Linked DNA regions of Homo sapiens: region 1 is linked to region 2. Evidence: promoter capture Hi-C in human tissues and cell types (Jung and others, 2019). All regions are on one chromosome and are shown on one strand. Each heading gives the region's core, a stretch centred on a gene start or on the middle of the fragment in contact. The rest is flanking DNA. Distances are from core to core; before and after follow the strand shown. Region 1 overlaps ARL15 (ARF like GTPase 15). Region 2 holds the start of NDUFS4 (NADH:ubiquinone oxidoreductase subunit S4).

Region 1 (5,762 bases), core at 2,361-4,860, 520 kb after region 2:
CGCCAAATGGTCAGTTTCTGGTGAGACCTCTCCTGGCATGCAGATGGCCACTTCCTAGCTGTGTCTTCACGTAGGGAAAAAGAGAGCTCTTTCACTCCTTCTTCCTCTTAAGGCCATCAACCCTATCAAATGAGGATCTTACCCTTATGACCTCATTTAGCCTTAATTTACTTCCTAAAAACCCTATCTCCAAATATAGTCATGTTGGGTGTTAGGACTTCAACATATGAACTGGGGGAAGGGCACAAGTTGGTCCATAACTTAAATCAAAAATTATGTCCTATGTCATTCATGAAAGTATGCGTTATATAAAGGATTTTTGTGTCAAGTTATTGGTTATTGTGTGATGCCCATTTAGCCTTAGTTTGAAAACTTTTAACAAAGCAGTTAAAAGTATTCAATCTATTTGTTTGAAATAACTCCTTCCATGGGTACTCTACTAATGATGGAATTGTATCATAAGCATATTAAACTTGAGAAAGAAAGAACTGAAACAGTCCCTTACCACCGCTCCATCTGAATTTATGTTCTGAAGATGGAAGACATGAATCCTGGTATGTTTAGGCTTTGTGTCCCCACCCAAGTCTTATCTTGAATTGTAATCCCCATAATCCCCACATGTCAAGGGAGAGACCAGGTGCAGTTAACTAGATCATGAAGGTGGTTTCCCCCATGCTCTTCTGGTAATAGTGAGTTCCCATGAGATCTGATGGTATTATAAATTGCTTTTCCCCCTTTGTTCAGCACTTCCCCTTCCTGCTGCCTTGTGAAGAAGGTGCCTTGCTTCCTCTTCGCCTTCTGCCATAAATGTAAGTTTCCTGAGGCCTCCCCAACTATGCTGCACTGTGAGTCAATTAAACCTCTTTCCTTTATAAATTACCCAGTCTTAGGCAGTTCTTTATAGCAGTATGAAAACAGGCTAGGTATGGTGGCTCATGCCTGTAATCCCAGCACTTTGGTAGGTCAAGGTGGGCAGACCACTTGAAATCAGGAGTTTGAGACCAGTCTGGCCAACATAGCGAAACCCCGTCTCTACTAAAAATACAAAATTAGCCGGGAGTGATGGCGGGCACCTGTAATCCCAGCTACTCGGGAGGCTAAGGCACGAGAACTGCTTGAACCCAGGAGGCGGAGGTTGTAGTGAGCCAAGACTGAGCCACTGCATTCCAGCCTGGGTAACAAAAAAAAAAGAAAGGAAGGAAGGAAAGAAGGAAAGGAGGGAGGGAGACAAATACAAATCCCCCTAATGGGTCTCAGTTCTCTGGGGCTTCTCATGATGAGAACACTTCCACTACAGTGTGTGATTCTAGTATTTAAAAACGAGTATTCTTTTTCATCCTGACCCTTGAATGCAAATCAAATACTACATCTTGTGCATAACAGGAGAAATAGGAGAATGCTCCACTGTTGGAAAGAAAACTACAGCATGAAAGTTCTAAAATATTTTCAAAGGGAATTTTAACTTTTTATGATTTTTCTCCTTATAGGTTGACTTTTTTTTAACCACCATAATATTCGCTGTGGTTTTAGAAGTTTTACCCTTTCAAAAACTACATATACATACGTGTGTGTATAGACAGATACTCACATTTGGAAGGAAAAAATCCTGGTAACATTTTAAATTATCATCATGAAAAAGTATCTCTTGTGACTGCAAGTTGAATATGTTCTATCTTCCAGAGATACACTAAAGACACATAATCTAATCAACTCCTACCAAGATAAAATAGGAAGAAGCCCTCACACCAGCCCCTTGGCTCTCCTTTTTTTCTGTGTTTTTCTCCTCTTTGTTTCTGAGTGTATATTGCTCTTGCACCTTTAATGCTCAGAAGGAAGATGAAGCTTCAGCTAAGGCCTTACTTTTTCCTTCTCAAGCCTCATATTTAGAGGGGGGAAAATTAGATGCAAAATCACCTTTTGATTATATGCAAATTTGTCAAATTTTTCCATTAAATGGTATATTAAGGAAATAGAGGCTGCTGAAGAATTGGGCATAGTAAAAGACCTAGATTTGAACTAATTTTATCATTTTATTTCTGACTCTGGAGGAGTGGCTACCTTTGTTGAAAATATGGGAAAAATGAAAAGACAGATGAGGCCTACGAATCTTCATATTTTAGAGTAAAAATAAGGGAAACAGAAAGAAAAATATGTAAGCAAATGTGGTATGTTTAAAGGTTAGGATTTCACACAATGCATTTATTTTTCTCACTAGTTATGTTTGACAATGGGGCTTAATTTACCAAGGAAGAAATAACCATGACGTCTTTCTACTGTCTAGAGAACAAATCAAAGAATTGTATTTCATGAGCAGTGCCTTCCAATTAAAAAAGAAGAATAAAGGAAAGAGAAAAGCTCATATATTCTGTTGAGTGTGTAGCAAATACATAGTACCACTGTGGCTATTTAAACAATTGAGGCTAATGGAACTAAGGAGAACTTCTAATGCAACTGAAATTGATGCAATGGTACACTTTAATTTTTAAGTGTTTCTCTTAAATATTCTATGCAATAGGGATTGAGTGCTCATTTGATTAACTTATTGCAGGGATGGTTGCGCAAGAATTAAATGTGCTTTGGCTGGACATTGACAATGAAATGAATCTGAATATACTTAAATGTGATATATACTGTTGCTTTGGGTCAAAAGTTTTTTCATGAGAAAATATCACCAATTAACTAAAATCAAAGAGAAAATGTCATTTTCTCCTCATTTAGGTTCTTTTAGGAATACATTAACTATATTATCAGTGCAGCACCTGTCTTTATTAATAATAGATGTAAATGTTGGTTCTCTGAGCTGTCAAACTTACAACTCAAACTTCCTAAAGTAAATCGATAACTATAATACATGACTATAATAATGTAGAACTGTGAGTTCTGCAAAATATCTAATAAGTTTTGAGTACCATTTAATCTGGGAGTTTTTGTTTCAAAGGACAACAATACCTCAGAAAAGGTTTATCACTGATGAGTTGTTCATTATTCAATGAAGATTTATCATACATATGCTAAAATTAAATGGAGTAGGGAGGGGGCTGGAGAATTAATCATACAGAAAAGAAGATGACTGAATGATCTATATGGGGGTAGTAATCCCCACACTGCCAGCGTTTATTCCATAGCCAGGGTGCCATGGGAACCAAGGGGCTGAGTCGCCCAGTCTTTGGGAGGAGTCTCATCTCAGAGGAAACCAGGAAGTCTTCCAGGAGGACCACTGGACATTAGCCAGGCTAGGGGTGAAGGGCAGGGGCACTGCAGGCCGTTGGAGTGCTCTTGTACAATTAGCCTTAGCCAGTGGGCTTGGCACTCTCAGCCTGTGTAACCAAACCCAGAAGGGGTCTAGAAGGCCTTTCAGGACACCGTATGCTTCAGAATAGGAGCGGATTCTCAGTCCACAGATGGTTCCTGATAGAGTGGCTGGGTGGGGTAAGACTATTCTTGGGCTCATCTAGTCTTAGAGATCTGGAGACTCCCAGAGGGGTGGAGGAGTAGGATACTTTTGGGGCCACTACAGTGGTACTGACTCTTCAAAAAAAAAAAAAAGAGAGACTGTAACTTAAAGTGATCTAAATTTATTCATTTTTAAGGGAAAAAGCACAACAGAAAGAACAATCACTCTGTCTACCCTTTCTCCTCAACGCTGCCCCTCGACATCTCCCTGGGAGAAGCTGTAAGACTGCCATTGTTTTTGTACGACCCCCAGATGCACAAAGTTGTGGGGAGCCTTCACATTGCCATCTCCCCTCCAGAGCCAGATTTGTCTGTGGCATTAGTGCACTGAAAGCTGAGGGGTAGGGTTGGGTATTCTCTGGAGGACAAAGTGCTAATGTTCAGTAATTCTGCAAACATATGAAGACAACATTGCCTACCTGCCAAGGGTGTGGCACCATGTTCTGGCGAAAAAAACTGCAACTGATTTCACTCATCCAAGCAAATTCTTAGGGTGTAATGGGAGTTGAAAAACATCATCTTGGAACCTACTAAAGGGACAAACATGATATGAAAATGATTGGGCGGGAGAGGCCATATTTATGAATCCTTAGTGAGGCTGTTTTATGGTTCAGATATTATGGCTTTGGCTAATGTCTGAGTATATGTATACACAGATTTTAATAAAAACAACCGTGAAATTTGAGAATCCACTTCACTGAAATTATAGAACAAATATATCTTGGATACTACATTTTGCGTAAGGCTGCAGTCATTCCCTTTAGGTGAACTGAAATGACACTGCTACCATGTCTTTTCTGTACAGAACAGGGAAACAATGACAATAAGAATAAATGAATTGTTTAACCCTGTGAGCTTCAGAATGCTTAGCAAACTACTGTGAATCAAAAGATACTACAGAACAATCTTTGGCTTTACTTGACAGTATTTAACAGGTCTTATAAGTCTATTTATTTTATTTATTAGTCCTTTATTTTACTCCCAATGACCTCATTTCCTTCTCCTTTGCTATAGTTTACAGCAAAGCAATTTGAAATAGCAAATCAAAATATTATCCGAGGACAAAATGTAATAAATGCAGAAATTGAGAATAAGTTTTTTTAGAAATTTTTGTTGCAGTGTGACATAGCTGTGACTCCCAAATATATAATCAGTGGCTTCATGTCACTGAACGTACAGACTAAAATTGCCAGTTGGTGATGAATTAGGGAGGAAACATGGGTATTTCCCCACAAATATTTTTATTAGTATTGGTTTAAAACATCTGGCAATTGTACATAAAATATTTTTAAATTCCCTTCAGCTATCAATATATAAATTATTGCAAAATTTATTAGGCTAACACTTTCTAACTTGTACTCTTAGATACAGAATAAAGATATTCTTGGTATCTGGAACACTGTAGTTGCTTCCATTGTCTTTGGCAGGTTTTCACTAGGAGAATGGTCAGCGCCATAGGTGGTAACCACGGCTTAGAAGAAAAGAGAAGAGGTGGATGGGTCCCAGGAGAGGCAGACTGAAATACCTATATTCTCTCCTAAGCGTCCCATGGCTCCAGGCACCACACATGAGCTTTTTTTTTTTTTTAGATGGCGTTTCACTCTTTTTGCCCAGGCTGGAGTGCAATGGTGCTATCTAGGCTCACCGCAACCTCCCTCTCCTGGGTTCAAGCAATTCTCCTGCCTCAGCCTCCTGAGTAGCTGAGATTACAGGCATGCGCCACCACGCCTGGCTAATTTTGTATTTTTAGTAGAGACGGGGTTTCTCCATGTTGGTCAGAGTGGTCTCGACCTCCCGACCTCAGGTGATCCGCCCGCCTCGGCCTTCCAAAGTGCTGGGATTACAGCCATGAGCCACCGTACTTGGCCTCTACACATAAGCTTTAGCATCTGGATACTTCAGCTAATCTGGGACAGGTCCAATGAATATTTCCACAGTTTATCACTTTGGAAGTTATAGGCTTTTTTCAAAATCCCCTTTAATTGCTTATTAGTTCTATAGCTCTATAAAGGCAAATAGCCTCATCCTGCTCATAGGAACTTTAGGGAAGTGCTTTACAATCTCCAGCCTTCAAGACATTGAGACAATGAAAAGGCCTTTTTTTTTTTTTAAGTATATGTGTTTCGCAGTAGCTTAAATAGACATTTACCAGATGTAAATTTTATCAGGCTTTGTGTTGAAGAGATTTCTTCAAGTGGTGATTGTTGACTCTAACTGTAATGTATTTTATGATCTCTCCAGATAGAATAGGAGGGAAAAATGAGAATATTAACCCTTCCTCTACCTGCTATTAGTTAATCCTAACAAAT
Region 2 (5,354 bases), core at 2,752-5,251:
AAATGGCAACTGATCAAAGATGAAATTTTAGAAACCAATAAGATCTATAGACCCAAGACAGCAATCACATTAATTTGTATGAGCTTTTCCTAAGCAAAATAGCAAATAGAGATAGCACTGTTTTTTTTCATTTTTTTGACATTTTAAAAGTTCCAGTTACTTTCATTCACTTATTCCATACATCCTTTGGAGGCTGCTATATGTGAGGGACTAGGCTAGATACTGGGAAAATGATAATCAAAATCAGATATGATCCTTGTCTTCAGATAACTTACTTTACATTGTAGAGAAAGTGACAATGATAGTGTATTAAAACTGAGACATGAGAGGTGCTACGAAGAAGGAAGATGTGATGCTAGGAGAGTCTACAGAAAGAGCTGACATAAAGGGAAGTCAGAGAAGTATTTTTCATGTAAGAGCATAGGAAAAGATGTTTTTGGATGCAGAATATCTAACTAATGGAGGTTTAAACAATTAAGTCATTTATTACCTCATGTAACAGGAAGTTTGGAGGTATTTTCATCAGGTTTGGTTTAAAAGTCGGTTCAGGATTGGCTCAATGATGTCAACTAAGCCCTAGGCTCTTTTCCTCTCTCTATTCCTCCACCCCTTCTTGTTAGCTAAGCTCTTATGCTTGTCCCTTCTAGTTCAGAAGATGCCACAGTTCTAGGCATTATGTCCTCATATAACTGCATTCAGACGCAGGAAAAGAGGTATTTCTTCTTGTATGTCTTTTTTTTTTTTTTTTTTCAGAAGTCTTTTTTCTCAAAAGGGATTTCAGATCCTGTTGGCTTTGGACATGTTCATGTGCTAGCTGCAGGAGCTAATGGGAAAGCCAATATACAGCAACTTTAGTCTCTATCATAGGAGTCAGGCTCTGTCAGCAAGGATGGCGGAGGTGAAAAATGCCTGTAAGACGTAGTTTCTACCATGGGGAGTGACTCTGAAGGATGTGACTCACAGCTGTGATCTGAAGGGCAAGGAGGATGACTAGAGAAGAGGCAAAGAAGTGGACTCTAGTAGTTAACAACTTCTGGGGCAGCACATTGAAATAACAAAATGGCACTTGGACCTAGACATTCTATTAAGCTTAATGGTACAGCCTGTGGTATAGGTGAAATAGTATAAATAAATGAACATACCAAGTTATTTCTGTTCCATTCTAACACCTATATCCTGTATATAAGGTCAGAAAGGACCTCAGGAATGGGCAGCTGAGGGAATCCAGCAGAAAGTGAAGGGAATCAAAGATTCCACTAGGGTTCTGGCAATGCTGATGTTGGATTATGGGCTGTACAAAAGACAAAGAGACTAGAGACCGGGGGCTTTCCTGGGGAATTCAGATCCATGGAAGTTGGGGACTAGAATAGGTGTTAGGTGGAGAGGTTGAGCTTTGGTTGGTAGGGCCAGTAACAGGGCTATAGGAAGTTGCTCTTATGAACACTGGGACACATCCCATTATTCCTTCACATAGAAAATCTTTATTAAAATTCACCCAGACACCAAAGCCACCCTTGGGCTTAAAATTTCTCTCTGAAATAGAGAACCCAGAAATAGCCACACACAAGTATGGCCAACTGATATTTTGACAAAGGTGCAAAAGGGACTCCATGGAAGAAGGATAAACTTTTCAATAAGTAGTGCTAGAGCAATTGGATAGCCACAAGCAAAAACCTGAACCTAAACCTCACACCTATTAATGGAAAACTTAACTCACAAAAATTACATAGACTTAAATGTAAAAGGCAAAACTAAAACAACCTTTGAAAGAAAACAAGATAAAATCTTTAGGATACAGGATTAGAGAATAGTTCTCAGACATGACAGCAAAAGCACAATCCATAAATTTAAAAAATGAATAAACTGGACTTCATCAAAATTAAAAATATTTGTTCTGTGGCAGATCTTGTCAAGAGAATGAAAATACAAACTACAGATTGAAGAAAATATTTGTGAATCATGCATCTGACAAAAGACACATCTAATATATGAAGAACTCTCAAAATGTACAGGTAAAAAACCAAATAATGCTAATTAGAAAATGGGCAAAAGACATAAGGACATTTAACTGAATGGAATATACAGATGGCAGATAAAAACATGAAAAGATATTCAACATTATTAGCCACCAGGGGAATAAATGTAAAACTGTGATGAGGTATTACTGCACATTTATTATTTACTTTAGCTCAGCTAAAACAAAAATAGCAATAATAGAAAATGCTGGTGAGGATATGGAGAAACTGGATCTCTCATACATTGCTGGAGGAAATGTAAAATGTTACAGTTACTCTGGAAAACAGTTTTTAATTTCTTTAAAAAATGACACATACATGTATCACATGACCTGGCAATTGCACTCCTGGGCATTTATCTCAGAGAAATGAAGATTTTTGTCCACATAAAAACCTGTATTCAATTGTTTGCAGCAGTTTTATTTGTAATGGCCCCAAATGGGAAACAATCAAAATGTTCTGCAATAGGTGAATGGTTAAACAAATTGTGGTACATCCATGTCATGGAATATTACTCAGCAATAAAAAAGGAATGAACTATTGATAAACACAACAACTTGGATGGGTCTCAAGTGCATTATGCCAAGTGAAAGAAGCCAATCTTAGAAGGTCATGTACTGCATGAGTCCATTCATATAACATCTCAAAATGTCAAAATTATAAAAACAGAAACAGAGATCACTAGGGTTAGGAGGGCAGGTGTTACCAAAAAGGTTAGCACTAGGGAGATCTTTGTGAGGGTGGAATAGTTCTGTATCTTGATCATGGTGGTGGTTACACAAAATATGTAGTAGAATGACATAGGACTACACAAATACTTTATATCAATGCCAGTTTCCTGGCTTTGATACTGTACTAGAGTTATACGAGATGTAATCACTGGGGGAAACAGGTACACAAGACATCTGTACTATCTTTGCAACTTCATGTGAATCTATAACTATTTCAAAATGAAAAGTTTGAAAGAAAATTTTCTCTGAGGCATCTCTCCCTTGCCTTCCTTCATCTTGTGCATTTCTTTCCCTGAGTATGACTTTTTCTCTTTCTTTCTCCCTTTCCCTTATGTACTGGGTTTTCCTTTAACGGTCCATAATGCCAAACTATGTCATTCCCCATCCTCCTATTGTTCCTATTTATTTAATGAAGGTTATGTTTTCATGTGCTTAATTTTAAAAGCAGGAAAGTACTAACTCTTTAAACAAATTTCTTAAAAAACAAAACCCAAAACTAACCTGCTTTTTATTTTATATAATTCAGTTAGTCATTATTCTTTAAGGTCGGAAGTCCACAATACAAACATGTTTCCAACACTTGTATTGGAAGATAATTTTTGTTTTATATGCATGGAGCATTAATATCATTCTTCATGTCTATGGATTATGAACACACACACATTCAGGATTTACTGGGGAAACAGTGACATCAAATATTATGTTCTATTGATTCTTCATATAAATCTACATGTCAAAAAATAATCCTTTGCCAGATCACGTATCCAGATTTTTCGTTTGGAAAATACGAACATTACTACTACAGAATATCAAACTGAATACAGCCCTGTCCTGAGGGCTTGCAAAGTGAATCTGGCAATACTTTGGAAAAGTACTACTGCAGGTTCTCAAGGACCCAAAGAGCTCTCCAGCTTTTCCAGTGGGTTCAGCCCCAAATATCCTAATTTCTTCAATAAATTACGAGTTGCAGGTGTTTAAATATGCAAGTATATTTTGGTCTTTTCGTTATCATTGTAAAACACCAGTCCTAACAAGCAGTAAAGATTACACTTTATGGTGGTAATATTTACAGTTAATGCACTTCTGCATTTCTTCCCGCACATTTTTCTTCTTACTTATTTAAACTAAGCGTTTCCCCTCTTTTTTTAAGCCCCAGTATTAAAAAGAAAATAAAATCCCAAAGAATTTCGCAACATTGCGATTGCACTGGCTTGAGAACGAAGGAAGTTAGTCCCTTGCGGTGATCCGTCCTTTCATCCTGGCGTTTGCCTGCAGCAAGATGGCGGCGGTGTCAATGTCAGTGGTACTGAGGCAGACGTTGTGGCGGAGAAGGGCAGTGGCTGTAGCTGCCCTTTCCGTTTCCAGGGTTCCGACCAGGTAATAGAATTTTCACACTTTTCTTCAAGCTTCTTGGGTCCCTCCATTTTTGCGGAGTCTCTGCTGGCTGAGTTCCGGAGGAGGCCTCGGGGAAGGCGTCCTCTGTTGACCCTTTTCTCGGGAGAAGTCGGGCGGACTAGGGACTGTCTGCTATCAATGGGCGTTGGCCAGGCGAGTGAGGGCGTGAGTGCGAGGCCGGGGAGGAGGACCTGTGGTTTTCTGGAAGCTTTCGTATTCGGCTTGTCGCTGAGGGAGAGGGTCCGTGGAGGTTTTGCCTCCGGAGCTGCAAGCTGAACCTTAGCCCTCAGAGAAGGGGAGGAGTCTCACTGATTTCTGTTTCCACTTTCTGCATCCCTTCCATTTGTCACCTGTTTGCCCACCACTCCAGTCCTTACAGAAGGGTTAAATCACTGTATCCCTTCCATGGTTTTAAGTGGTTTTAATTTGGTTTCTGCATAGGAAGATTGTTTATTCATCAGTCTGCTTGGGAGGAAAACTTGTTTGGAATTCAGTGTTAGTAAAAATATCACTGCTAGTAATATTGGAAGGTAATTTTTAAAAGGCTGGTGGTAATGCCTGGAGGTTTTCTAGGGATTTTGTTAAAGCCTCACAATAATTCAGGGATTGAATTGAGTTGTTGAGGGCTCTTTGCGTCCTTGAGAACCTAAAGTAGTACTTTTCCAAAGTATTGTCAGATTCAGTTGTCAGTTGATTGAGTTGTTACTGTTTTTCCTTGAAGCATTTTTGTGATGATTTTTTTTTTTTTGGCTGTATTAACCTTCCATTTTCTATTTTTCAGAATTTCCTGGAGTTTTTTAAATTATAGTACTAATGCTATACGTACATACACACACATATTAGAACAAAGATTGGAAAGACTGGATGGAGAGATTTGAAGGGGGTAGGAGGTGGATGCAAGTGGTTAAAAGTTGAAAGGAAGGTCTAGTAGAATGCTAATTGATTTAGTGTTAAATATAAATGGAATGCAGAGAATTAGGATGAGTTAATTCGGAAGAATTTTTAAGGATGAGTTTTATTAAGGTTTAAATATAGTGGGTGTTGGGTGGGAAAGAAGAGAGTGTCCCGTAGGGTCCGTGGCTTATGAAAAGGCTTGAAAGCATTAGTTAAACGATTACTAAATACATAGAATAGAGTCACTCAAAAGTAAGGGTGCTAAGATTGGGGAAAGGCAAATGATGTTTGTAATTAAGTGTTCCATATATGGAAAGTA

Evidence for each region. The method cuts DNA at HindIII sites, captures the fragments that hold promoters and counts their contacts. A contact is called where the count stands out against the background at its distance.
Region 1: a contact is called between a fragment that was not itself captured here and the fragment with the promoter of NDUFS4 in region 2, in 2 of the 25 tissues and cell types used here (mesenchymal stem cells and mesendoderm cells).

The regions. Positions count from the first base shown.
Region 1 is chr5:54,080,893-54,086,654 of GRCh38, forward strand. The region is part of intron 4 of ARL15 (ARF like GTPase 15); the gene reads right to left. Among named protein-coding and RNA genes, the nearest start is that of MIR581, 130 kb to the left of the region's middle. The HindIII fragment of the contact is 5,895 bases long and covers 664-5,762 here.
Region 2 is chr5:53,556,638-53,561,991 of GRCh38, forward strand. NDUFS4 (NADH:ubiquinone oxidoreductase subunit S4) reads left to right here and starts at 4,002. Exons shown (of 5, transcript NM_002495.4): 1 at 4,002-4,123. The coding sequence starts at 4,026. RefSeq lists an enhancer at 3,904-4,403. The HindIII fragment of the contact is 8,769 bases long and covers 1-5,354 here.